Regions from separate parts of the Homo sapiens genome. Here region 1 is linked to region 2. Evidence: promoter capture Hi-C in human tissues and cell types (Jung and others, 2019). All regions are on one chromosome and are shown on one strand. The core of a region is centred on a gene start or on the middle of the fragment in contact, and the rest is flanking DNA. Distances in the headings are between cores, read along the strand shown.

Region 1 (5,495 bases), core at 1,599-4,098, 370 kb after region 2:
TGGCCCCCATTGGGCGTGGGTTATGGCAGCCCCGGGAAACTCTCTTGGATTTCCCACTCACACCCAGCACTGGGGGACCCTGTTTCGTGTGAGGTTGTCTTCCCTCTCTCTGGTCCCCCTCCCACTTGGTCTGACCCCCAGAGCTTTCTCAGAGCGAAACACATTTCCTGATGGTGGTTTTCTTGCCTCAGCTGCCCTTGAGAGTGGCAGTGCTCTTCCTAAGAGGAACGCTTCCTGTGGATAAAATATTTCTTCATTTATCTGTATCAGAGTAGAAGCCCAGGTATATAAATGCAACGTTATGGCTATTTTAAAATTGTTTACTTGGAGTTGTTTTGGGTTTGTTTTTTCTGGAGACAGGGTCTTGCTCTGTTGCCCAGGCTGGGGTGCAGTGGTGCAATCTTGGCTCACTGCAGCCTTGACCTCTGGGGCTCAAGTAATCCTCCCATCTCAGCCTCCTGAGTAGCTGGAACTATAAGCGCACACCCAAAAGAATACAAAAACTGGACCCCGCTAGTTTCATGTATTCTTTGTATTTTTTATTTTTATTTTTTGTAGAAACAGGATTTTGCTGTGTTGCCCAGGCTGGTCTCAAACTCCTGGGCTCAAGTGACCCTCCCGCCTCGGCCCCTCAAAGTGTTGGAATAACAGGTGTGAGCCATGGTGCTCAGCCTATTTTTTAATTGTTTAAGTCTTCCTTACCAGAATTCTGATTTTTCCTAGGCTTAGAAAAAACTCTTGTAGCCCTTGGACTTATTTGTACTGTGGGATTATAAGCCAAGTATTTGGGGACTCGGCCTAAGTCAATGAGAAAAGCATAGAGGCTTCCACTGAGCCAGTTGACACACACAAAGGTTCCAGTGGATTGTTTTGTTTTGGCAAGGTACACATTCTCTCACTCCTGAAGATTGGCCCTGCCCGTTTTGTCCACAGCCACAGGCTGGGGAAGGGGAGGAGACTGTGGTGAAGAGGCCCCCTTCTCCTTTGTCCTCAGCTCCTGTACATGTGTGGGGGCCTCATGGAGCGGCCCCTGATTCTTGCCGAGGTGGCGCCCAGGTATTCAGTCATGCTGGAGCTGTTTGACGCTGAGCTAGACAATGCTAAGATCTTGTACGATGCCCAGATGGCGGCCTCCGAGGAGGGGAACATCCCCCTGATCCACAAAAACATGCCTCCCGTGGCCGGGCAGCTCAAATGGAGCCTGGAGCTGCAGGAGAGGCTAGAGGTGTCCATGAAACACCTGAAGCACGTCGAACACCCGTGAGTCACAGCCCTGGGCAGGGGCAGGCACCCCGCCTCCATGGTGCGGGAGAGCGAGAGGGACTGTCCCAACCCCGAGCGGGACCACCCCTCCTGTCGACCAGACTGTTACCTCCCAGAGCAAAAGCCCAGAAGAGACCCCTTCTGGTCCTCCCTCCTCCCCTGATCACCTTCTTGGTGGGAGTGCTCAGGAGAAATCTGGCTGGTCCCCACCCTTGCCCACCAGCCTGGTAGACATGAAGACCACCCAGGCAGGAACAGGAAGAGGCTGTGTATGCAGCTGACTGAGCCACTGTTGCGTGCACTTGGCCAAGTCTCCTGGACAGCCAGGGGCCGGGGAGGCTTCACGGTGGACGCAGGGACGGCTGCAGGGGAGCCCCGGCTTGGCCTGGGGAGGCCGGTGCAGCTGACTAGGAGGGGGGCCTTTTATGTGGTTGTTTGGGGGGCGTATTTGCTTTCATCTAGTTGGCCCCAGGTTGGAAGGGAGAAGGAAAGTTGGAGAGGGGCTGGCTGTCATTCATCCAGGCCTGGCGGTCGGGAGCCAGTTGCTGCGTGGGTTCTATTTTGGCCTCCTGGGCTGGTGGCTGCAGACTGCAGGTCGGAGTTCCATTTGAACATTTGGTCTGGCCACTGCTTGTTTGCATATTCAGTCTGTGAGCCTCGAGTAATTGGGTGGCCGGCCGCTTCGGCACCCCAGATCGGGCAGCAACGATGGGACGTGCCGAAGACACCCCACAGGAGATATCCAGTGGGGCCTCGCCTTCCCGCTCTGATTCCAGGGTCATGTCTGGAGCAGAGGCCAAGCTGACCTATCAGAAGTATGACGAGATGATGGAGCTGCTGAGGTGCCACCGCGAGAAGATCTACCAGCAGTGGGTGGCGGGCGTGGACCAGGACTGCCACTTTAACCTGGGGCAGCCGCTGATTCTGCGGGACGCCGCTAGCAACCTCATCCACGTCAACTTCAGCAAAGCGGTGGGTGCCAGGAGTGGGGACCGCGTCAAAGGCTCCTTGGGAGCGGGGGGAGGGCCTGCCAAGGTTCCCTCAGCACGGATTTATGGAGGTCGATGTTTATATCACAGTTCGCCTAAAGCTTTACTTCTTAAGTGTGTCCAGGGTATATTTAAGACATGAGGGAAAGCAGAAGCAACTTTGACAATAGCTTCAATGAGTATCTTCTTGAAAGCGTTCCTGTGATCCCAAGAAGAAATGACAATTTGAAACTGGGGGGGGGGAAAAAGTCTTTGCCGAATCTAGATAAATGCACTGGCTGGTCAAGGCAGGCACACTGGGGAGAATTCACACTTGTGGGCTCTGGGATGTGGGTTCTATGGCTAAAACCCGGAAAGTTCAGATGAGCAGAGGATGGAACCGAATTCCTACAAGCACAGCCCCAGAGCTGCCCAATCTGCACGTGGCAAGGCAGGGAAACCAGAGATGCGGCTCTTCCTTGGAAATCTTCCCACTCACTAACATTCATTCTTTCGTTCACCAAATACTTACTGAGCACCTACTACATGTATGTGCTTGGGATAAATTAGTGATCCAGACAGTCAGAGAGCTGTCTGTCCTGCCCTCCTAGAGCCTACCTCCAGGCAGGAGGGCGGGGAGGATGATCAGCTAGCATTCACGAGGGAGTCAAGTGTATGATATGGTAGAAGGTGCAACAGGTTCCGCGGAAGGAAGAGCAGGAAGGGCAGGTTAAGAAGATCAATAGAGCCGGTAGAAGGGGCAGGTGCAATTTTAGATGTGAGCAGAGACTTGTGGGAGGTCAGAGTGCCGCTGAGCAGAGATGGAGGGAACAGCTTTGCAGCACGGCATGCGGGTAAAGAAAAGGCCAGGTGGCGCCCGAGAGCCTGGTGCAGTCCAGGAGCAGCAAGGAGGCCAGTGGGGCGGGGGAATGGGCAAAGGGGAAGGTCGTAGGAGAAGAGATGAGAGGTGACGAGGAAGGGCCCCATGGACCACAGAGGGACTTGGAGTTTGGTTTGAGCAAGATGGCAGCCCCTGCAGGGTGTCAGACAGAGGTGTGCTGCGATTAGATTTCTAGTTGTAAAGGACCCTTCTCCACGCTGTGAGGTGCGTAGATTGAACGGAGCTGGGGCTGGAGGAAAGAGCAGGAAAATCAGTTGGGAGCCTGTTGGCACAGTCCAGGCAAGAGATGACAGCTGGGAGGTGGTGGCTGGAACCAGAGTGGCAGCAGTGAAGGTGGTGGTGAGCTTCTGGACTTGAATATAGTGCCATGGAGACTCCTAGTAGGTTGGAAATGGAGCGTGATTGGAAGAGGGGAGTCAGTCCCAATGTTTTAGGGTCAGGTGAGTAGACAGGTAGAATTGCCATTGGCCAAGAGGGCAGGTGGGGCAGAGGCCACAGGGGAGGATGGGCTGCTGTGCTTTAGCCTTGTTGGGTGTGAGATGTCACCTGGACATCCAAAGAGAGGAGCTGAGTAGGCGGGTGGATACAGAAGGCTGGAAGTCACGAGAGAGGCTGGGGTTGGAGACATAAACGTGGGAGCCACCCACACAGAGATGGTACTTGTAGCCACAACACTGGACATCTCATTACCTCATTCAGCGGAGATGACAAATGGGCTGGCTGGTCAAGGCAGCTATAACGTTGGATGACATCACACCTCATTCAACTGAGGGTAAATTGAGAAGGAACAAGGTCTGTGGCTCCCCATCATGGACATCTTGAGATTATCAAAAGAGACTAATAATGGTGACCAGGAATGTCTAGTGTCCTGGAAGCCAGGAGGACACTGTGTGCCCAGAAGGAAAGAGTGCCAGCGGCTGGGCGATCCCATGAGATGAGGCCCGTGATGTGACCAGTGGATTCAGCAATATGGAGGTTATCTCAACTTTGAGAATAGCTTTGTGGACAGAAGCACTGTTGGAAGGGATGTCCCTGTTGTTGATCTCGGGTCATAACCGGGTGAAAGCAGAGAGAAAACAGAAGGTTAGATTCCAGCGAGGAAACAAGTGAAGACCCGAAGTCTTACTCCAAACCACTTGTGGGTAGTAGGTAGGAGAGGACAGAGATAAGAAAATTAGGATGATGTCAGCCACCCATGGTGATGATGATATCATCCACCTACAATGATGACATCATCCACCCATAAGGATAATGTCACCCACCCGTGGTGATGACAATGATGTCATACACATGCAATGATGATGTCATCCACCCATGAGGGTGATGTCATCCACCCATGAGGGTGATGTCATCCACCCATGAGGGTGATGTCATCCACCCATGAGGGTGATGTCAGTGCTTTCCGGCTCAGGATCAGCCAACAGGGTGAAAACGTCCTGGTCCTGCCAACAAATACTGCCTCCCACCAACTTTGAGATCCCCCCCGGCTGTCAAAACATCCCAGGGCAGATGCTCATTTCTGTTGCTTGAACACTGCACTGTTGACCTGACCTGCTGACATGTTCTTTGATCTTCGTTTGTCATTTAGTTGGTGGCAGTTCTGAGAGAAGTCAAGTATTTGAATTTCCAGCAACAGAAAGAGATTCCAGACAGTGCGGAGAGTCTGTTCTCAGAGAACGAAACTTTCCGGAAGTTTGTGGGCAACCTGGAGCTCATCGTTGGCTGGTATAATGAGGTGAGTTGGTGAGTCGGTACTATTCCTGATGCAGCTTTGTATTGTTTTGGTTTTTTGTCAAGTTTGTTTGTGTGTTTCAGAGATGTGGCTCTTCCTGGGAAATCTTCCCATTCACTCAAATTCATTCTTCCATTCACTGCATACTTACTGAGTACCTGCTATGTGTATGTGCTTGGGATAAATTCCTGAGCCAGGGAGTCAGAGATCTCTGTCCTGCCGTCCTGTTCTGTTCCACTTGGAGATCTTACACCAGCATTTGTTGTCACCCAACAACTTCTGGTGTAAGATCTCCAAGCAGAACAGAATTAAATTAGTGTGTATTTTAATATTTAGACATGGTTCAAGCCAGTCTTCATTATTCATGCAAATAGCAGCAAAGATAGTGATGACTCAGAACAGCTGGTGATGAATATCTTATTCCCACTGGGCTTTGGCTTACGTTACTTTTTTTTTTTTTTTTTTTTTTTTTTTGAGACAGTCTCACTCTGTCACCCAGGCTGGAGTGCAGTGGCACAATCTAGGCTCACTGTAACCTCTGCCTCCCAAGTTCAAGCGATTCTCCTGGCTCAGCCTCCTGAGTAGCTGGGACTACAGGCGTGTACCACCAAGCCCAGCTGGTGGTAGTAAA
Region 2 (5,602 bases), core at 472-2,971:
TTCACTATTTTCCAAAGTTTCATACCTCAAGTCAGCACCGCACAATTTAGTGGGCAATTCTTTTTAAAAAAAAAAAAAAAAAAAACAAAAAAAAACAAGAGTCTTTCTCTGTCGCCCAGGCTGGAGTGCAGTGGCGCAATCTCGGCTCACTGCAACCTCCGCCTCTCGGGTTCAAGCGATTCTCCTGCCTCAGCCTCCTGAGTAGCTGGGACTACAGGCGCGCGCCACCACGCCCGGCTAATTTCTTGTGTTTTTAATAGAGACGGGGTTTCACCGTGTTAGCCGCCAGGCTGGTCTCGAACTCCTGACCTCGTGATTCGCCCACCTCAGCCTCCCAAAGTGCTGGGATTACAGGCATGAGCCACTGCACCCGGGCTTTTTTTTTTTTTTTTTTTCTTTTGAGATGGAGTCTCGCTCTGTCCCCCAGGCTGGAGTGCAGTGGCATGATCTCGGCTCACTGCAAGCTCCGCCTCCTGGGTTCATGCCATTCTCCTGCCTCAGCCTCCCGAGTAGCTGGGACTACAGGCGCCCACCACCAAGCCCGGCTAATTTTTTGTATTTTTAGTAGAGACGGGGTTTCACTGTCTCTACTAAATGCTAGCCAGGCTGGTCTCAAACTCCTGGCCTCAAGTGATCCTCCTGTCTCGGCCTCCCAAAGTGCTGGGATTACAGGCGCAAGCCACCGTGCCCGCCCTGATTCTTCCTGTGTCATTTTCCTGGGCTTCCCTCTCCCTAGCTGGACTGCAAACACTCTGGAATGCTGACCTGAGGGCTGGAGTGCTGACCTGAGTGCAGCAGTGTCCATGGAGCCCCACGGGGCACACACCAAATGTACAGGGTGGGTGCCCACAGCCGGGCACAGGCAGGTTCACAGCCAGGAAGCCCGCCTCACCACCCTACACATGTTCATCCCTTCATATGCCTGGGTCTTTCCTGGAACACAAAACTGTTTTGGGAAAAGTCCTTCGGCTCCCACATTTGTGGACTAAGAGAGGAAACTGTGAGCGGAACCCAGCCAATGCCTCTGCTGCGATCCTACTGGCTCCTGGGCGCCTGGGCCCACCCCCGTCTCTTGTTGGCTGGTCAAAAATATGGCCAGTTTATATAAAATCCTGTTTTGTTCACAGTAACCACACCCCCCACCCCCCAACTAAACTGGCCAGGCGCACTTAAAATTCTAAGGCCTCCATTTGAAAAAGGGATCCTGTCAGTTTCTCAATAGGCCACCCGCCCACAGAAACGGGGAGGTGGCGACAGGGAACGGCCCCTGCTCCAAAGGACACCCCTTGGCTCGCCCCGAGGCTGGGCTCGAAGGGACCCCGGGGTGGCGGGGGACGGAGCAGCGTAGCCCTCCAGAGTCGAGCTGAAGGGGAAAGGGTAGCGGGTGGGTCGCCTGGTGTCCTGGAAGAACGGGGCGCGAGTCCCCCGCGCTGAGTCAGGGACCCCGGGCGCAGAAGGCCACGCAGCGGGGACCGGGGTCGGGGGGCTGGGGGCGTCCGGGGACCCCCGCGCGGGTGCGGGTCGCGGGCGCCAGGTGGTGCGGGAAGCCCCCGACGTGCCAGGCCGGGCACAACAAAAGCGCGGGCTGGGGGGAGGCGCGGGCGGAGGGGGAGGAGGGGGCTGCTGGGAGCGCCCAGAGCCTGCATTGGCCGCCAGCCACCGGGAGGAGGAGCAGAAAATCCTCCGAGCGCAATAAAACTGCGGCCCGGCCCAAGCCCGCAGCAAACACATCCGTAGAAGGCAGCGCGGCCGCCGAGAACCGCAGCGCCGCTCGCCCGCCGCCCCCCACCCCGCCGCCCCGCCCGGCGAATTGCGCCCCGCGCCCCTCCCCTCGCGCCCCCGAGACAAAGAGGAGAGAAAGTTTGCGCGGCCGAGCGGGGCAGGTGAGGAGGGTGAGCCGCGCGGGAGGGGCCCGCCTCGGCCCCGGCTCAGCCCCCGCCCGCGCCCCCAGCCCGCCGCCGCGAGCAGCGCCCGGACCCCCCAGCGGCGGCCCCCGCCCGCCCAGCCCCCCGGCCCGCCATGGGCGCCGCGGCCCGCACCCTGCGGCTGGCGCTCGGCCTCCTGCTGCTGGCGACGCTGCTTCGCCCGGCCGACGCCTGCAGCTGCTCCCCGGTGCACCCGCAACAGGCGTTTTGCAATGCAGATGTAGGTAAGGAGCGGCGACCCCAGCCCCCGCGCGGGGCCCCACCTCCCCCGCGACCCCGAGGGTTCGCAGACGCCCCGCCCGCCCGCCGCTGGCCGAGGGACCCCAGCGCCCGCCTCCTGGTCCCTCGGCGCCTTCTCGAATCCTGCAAGTGGACGCCCAGAGCCGACTTTCTTTCCCCCCTCCCTCCTCTCCCTTTCTTTCCCTCTCTTTGCCGAGATGCGTCTCAACCTCAAAATTCCACCGAAATTCCGCCGCAGCTCCAGCCCCAGGAAAGGGAGCCAGTTTGGCTTTTGGCAGGCGGCGCGCCCTGGGATGCCAGCGCTGGGGGCGGGGAGCGTGGGGGACACGGCGTGGGGGCGGGGGGCTGGAGGACTGGGGACCCCAGGAAGAAACTTTCGCAGATAAGGTGGGAGTTGGGCTTCTCTGGGCTTGGGGCTGGGTGGGGAAGGGCTTCTCTGCTGGGGCTTCTCCCACCAGCCCCATTTGGGGGCTCCCCGATCAAGCCAGGGTGGGATGGAAGCCCGCCCTACCCGAGGCAGGTTCCACAGGCCCAGAGGGGCAGGTGAAAAAGCCGGTGGCGTCTCCTGGCGTGGCTCCTTGCTTGCGCCCTGCCCAGGAGGCCCTGCAAACTGGCTGGGCAGGGACCGGGACCCCCGAATGTTCCGCTTTTTCGGGACGTCCACAAAAGCTGGAGACTTTGGTGACCGGACCCGGCACGTGGGACTGTGCTGCTGCTCAGATTCCCCAGCAAATACCCATGACCTCCGGACTCCTAGCCCCCAAAAGACAGGCGCCATGGAGGGAGGCAGGAGGGGCCCAGTTATTTGTTCTGATCCATGGAGGGGGAGGACCAGCAGAAATGGGAGGAACCCGCTGGCTCGAAGTTTCCACCCTGGTCCTGCACCTCAAGCCTCTGCAGCCCTGGTGCTGGTCAGCATGGTTTTCCTGGGGCAAGTCTGGCTACACGGCAGGTGGTCTCGGAGCCCCCTGCCCTCCTTCCTTCTTATGTCTGAGTCTCAGTCGAGTGACCTGTCCAGGGCAGATGGAGCAAGGCGGGGGCCCCCTCACCTGCCCAGAGTGGAGGTGGGACTTTCTGTTTCTCCTGCTGTCAGCCACGCCCTTCCCATACCCCGCCCACGGCTTCTTGCCCCACCCCGGTTAGCCCTAGGAGCTGCGTGCCCAGCTGGGGAAGTTTTCAGTTGCACCAATCTATTGAGATCACAGGTCTCAGGTGGCTCAGGCCACCTGGGCGGAAGGCTTGGTGTGTGCCTGTGTCAGTTTCCACAAAACCCAGTTTGGGGGAAATGAGGTCTTTTCTCCAGTTTAGCCTTGGTGCTCAGCAAGATTTGTGGGTGAAGGAGAGGTTCCTTTGATGAGGGAGCCATAATGGGCCTTTCTCTGGGGGTCCACGAGGAGTGCAGGCCTGTCCAGGCTCCTTGGCTCACCAGCACGTGCTGGGGCAGGATGTAGCCAAGGCCCAGAAGGAGGCTGTGGATAAAAGGACCTGGGAGTTGGATTTGTAGGAGTTGGGCCTTGGGACCCCTCCCCCTCCCGCCCCCCCCCCCACCCCGCCCCACACACACACTCCTCAGCTGTGTGGGAGAATGTCCAGGCAGCCACTCTGTCCTTGCTTGGCATAAGTTAAGGCGGCCACTGAGCTGGGAGCTGTTTCTGCGTGGGGTGTGGATCCAGGATGGCAGAGGGTGGAGGGCTGCAGTGCGTGCCTCCCGCCTCCTTCATGCTCAGCGCAGCACTCTCCTCTTCTGGGTTGCCTGGCATTTGTGTCTAAATCTTTGCATCAAAATCATCCTGTAGCTAAAACTTTTCACCCCATCCCGGCTCAGAGGCCCAGTCAGATGCCAGAGTTGCACTGCAGAGCTCAGGGCATTCGCTTCCTGTGGCCGCTGTGACAAACTACCACAAATGGGAGGGCTTAAAAGAACAGGAATCGATTCTCTGTAGCTCAGGAGGCCAGAAGTCTGAAAAGGTGTCCACAGAGCCAGTTCCTTCTGGGGGCTGTGAGGGAGAATCTCTTCCAGGCCTCTCTCCTTGATGTTGCTTGGTTCCATTTTCAAGGAACACATCACTTCCATTTCCGCCTGTCTTCACATGGCCTTCTCTCGTGTGTCTCTGTGTCCAAATTTCCCTGTTCTTTTTTTTTGGAGAGCAGGCTGGAGTGCAATGGCGCAATCTCGGCTCGCTGCAGCCTCCGCCTCCTGGGTTCGAGCAATTCTCCTGCCTCAGCCTCCCAAGTAGCTGGGGTTACAGGCACCTGCCACCACACCCGGCTAATTTTTTGTATTTTTAGTAGAGACAGGAATTCGCCATGTTGGCCAGGCTGGTCTCGAACTCCTGGCCTCAGGTGATCCGCCTGCCTCAGCCTCCCAAAGTGCTGGGATTATAGGCGTGAGCCACCGCGCCCGGCCAAATTGCCCTGTTCTTCTAAGGACAGCAGCCATTGGATTTAGGGCCCACCCTAATCCAGTATGACTTCATCTTGATAGATCAACAAATACTCTATTTCCAAATAAGGTCATATTCATAGGATCTGACTAGATGTGCATTTGAGGGGGGACGTAATTCAGCCCATACACCAGGCTGCCTTCTCTTATTCCCAGTCACCCTTTCCGTGCTCAACCAACTTGGGATAAACAACCCAGGACATCCCAGGGTAGGGTCCCGGAACAAATCCCACAGGGACGACAGCGGCCTGTCTATTCTCCAGTGTTCGATTCTCCTCGAAGCGATGCAGGTTTGTGACTTTCTCAGCAATGGTTCCCCATTCTGGCTCAGAGCAGAATTGCCTGGAAGATTCTTAAAGATTGCTCAGGTCTAGGTCCCTTTGCAGATACAGAGGGTCTTGCTCAGACTTCGGCTTTTGCAGTTTTAAAAGGCCCACAGGTGATTTAACCAGGGCTGTGACCCAGGGGTCTCAGAAAGGGGGTACAGTGGAGGTTAATAAAGGCTGGCTTGTTATGTGGCAAGCTGGCTCCTTTTACTCTTGGCTGCATGCAGCCTTGTTAAATGGCTTGGTGTCTACAAGAGGCAATTGGCTTAAGAAACAGTCAGATTTCTGTCTGCCCGGCTGAGGATTTCTGGGAGGTATCTCCCTAGCAGCTCTTGCAGTTGGTAGGACCGGAACTGTGGTCGGCAAAGATAATTCATGATGAGGTGGTGATGTTTAGGATAAGGGATGGTAAGAGGTGACCTGATTTCTTCCTGGAAGGCCCCAGGTCCTTGTCCTTTCCAGCAAGGCCAGCACAAACGGGAAGCATTTTGTGTCTCAGTTACAGTACTGTTCAAATGCGCTGCTGGCCCGGCTCCCTCTCACCCAGTGAAATCCTTCACATCTACTGCCAGCCTGCACAGCTACAGGGATCTGGCTGGAAATTAGCTTTGGGCTCACCATTCAGGCAGTCCCATGCCTGGAGCCACTTAGCCAGCTGAGCTACTTGG

The links. The method cuts DNA at HindIII sites, captures the fragments that hold promoters and counts their contacts. A contact is called where the count stands out against the background at its distance.
Region 1: a fragment that was not itself captured here is called in contact with the fragment with the promoter of TIMP2 in region 2 in 1 of the 25 tissues and cell types used here (lymphoblastoid cells).

The regions. Positions count from the first base shown.
Region 1 is chr17:78,557,480-78,562,974 of GRCh38, reverse strand. It overlaps DNAH17 (dynein axonemal heavy chain 17), which reads left to right. Exons shown (of 81, transcript NM_173628.4): 12 at 995-1,260; 13 at 2,040-2,235; 14 at 4,721-4,867. Among named protein-coding and RNA genes, the nearest start is that of DNAH17, 17 kb to the left of the region's middle. RefSeq lists an enhancer at 3,849-5,048. The HindIII fragment of the contact is 7,931 bases long and covers 1-5,495 here.
Region 2 is chr17:78,921,506-78,927,107 of GRCh38, reverse strand. It overlaps TIMP2 (TIMP metallopeptidase inhibitor 2), which reads left to right and starts at 1,721. Exons shown (of 5, transcript NM_003255.5): 1 at 1,721-2,149. The coding sequence starts at 2,020. RefSeq lists an enhancer at 3,492-3,561. The HindIII fragment of the contact is 25,377 bases long and covers 1-5,602 here.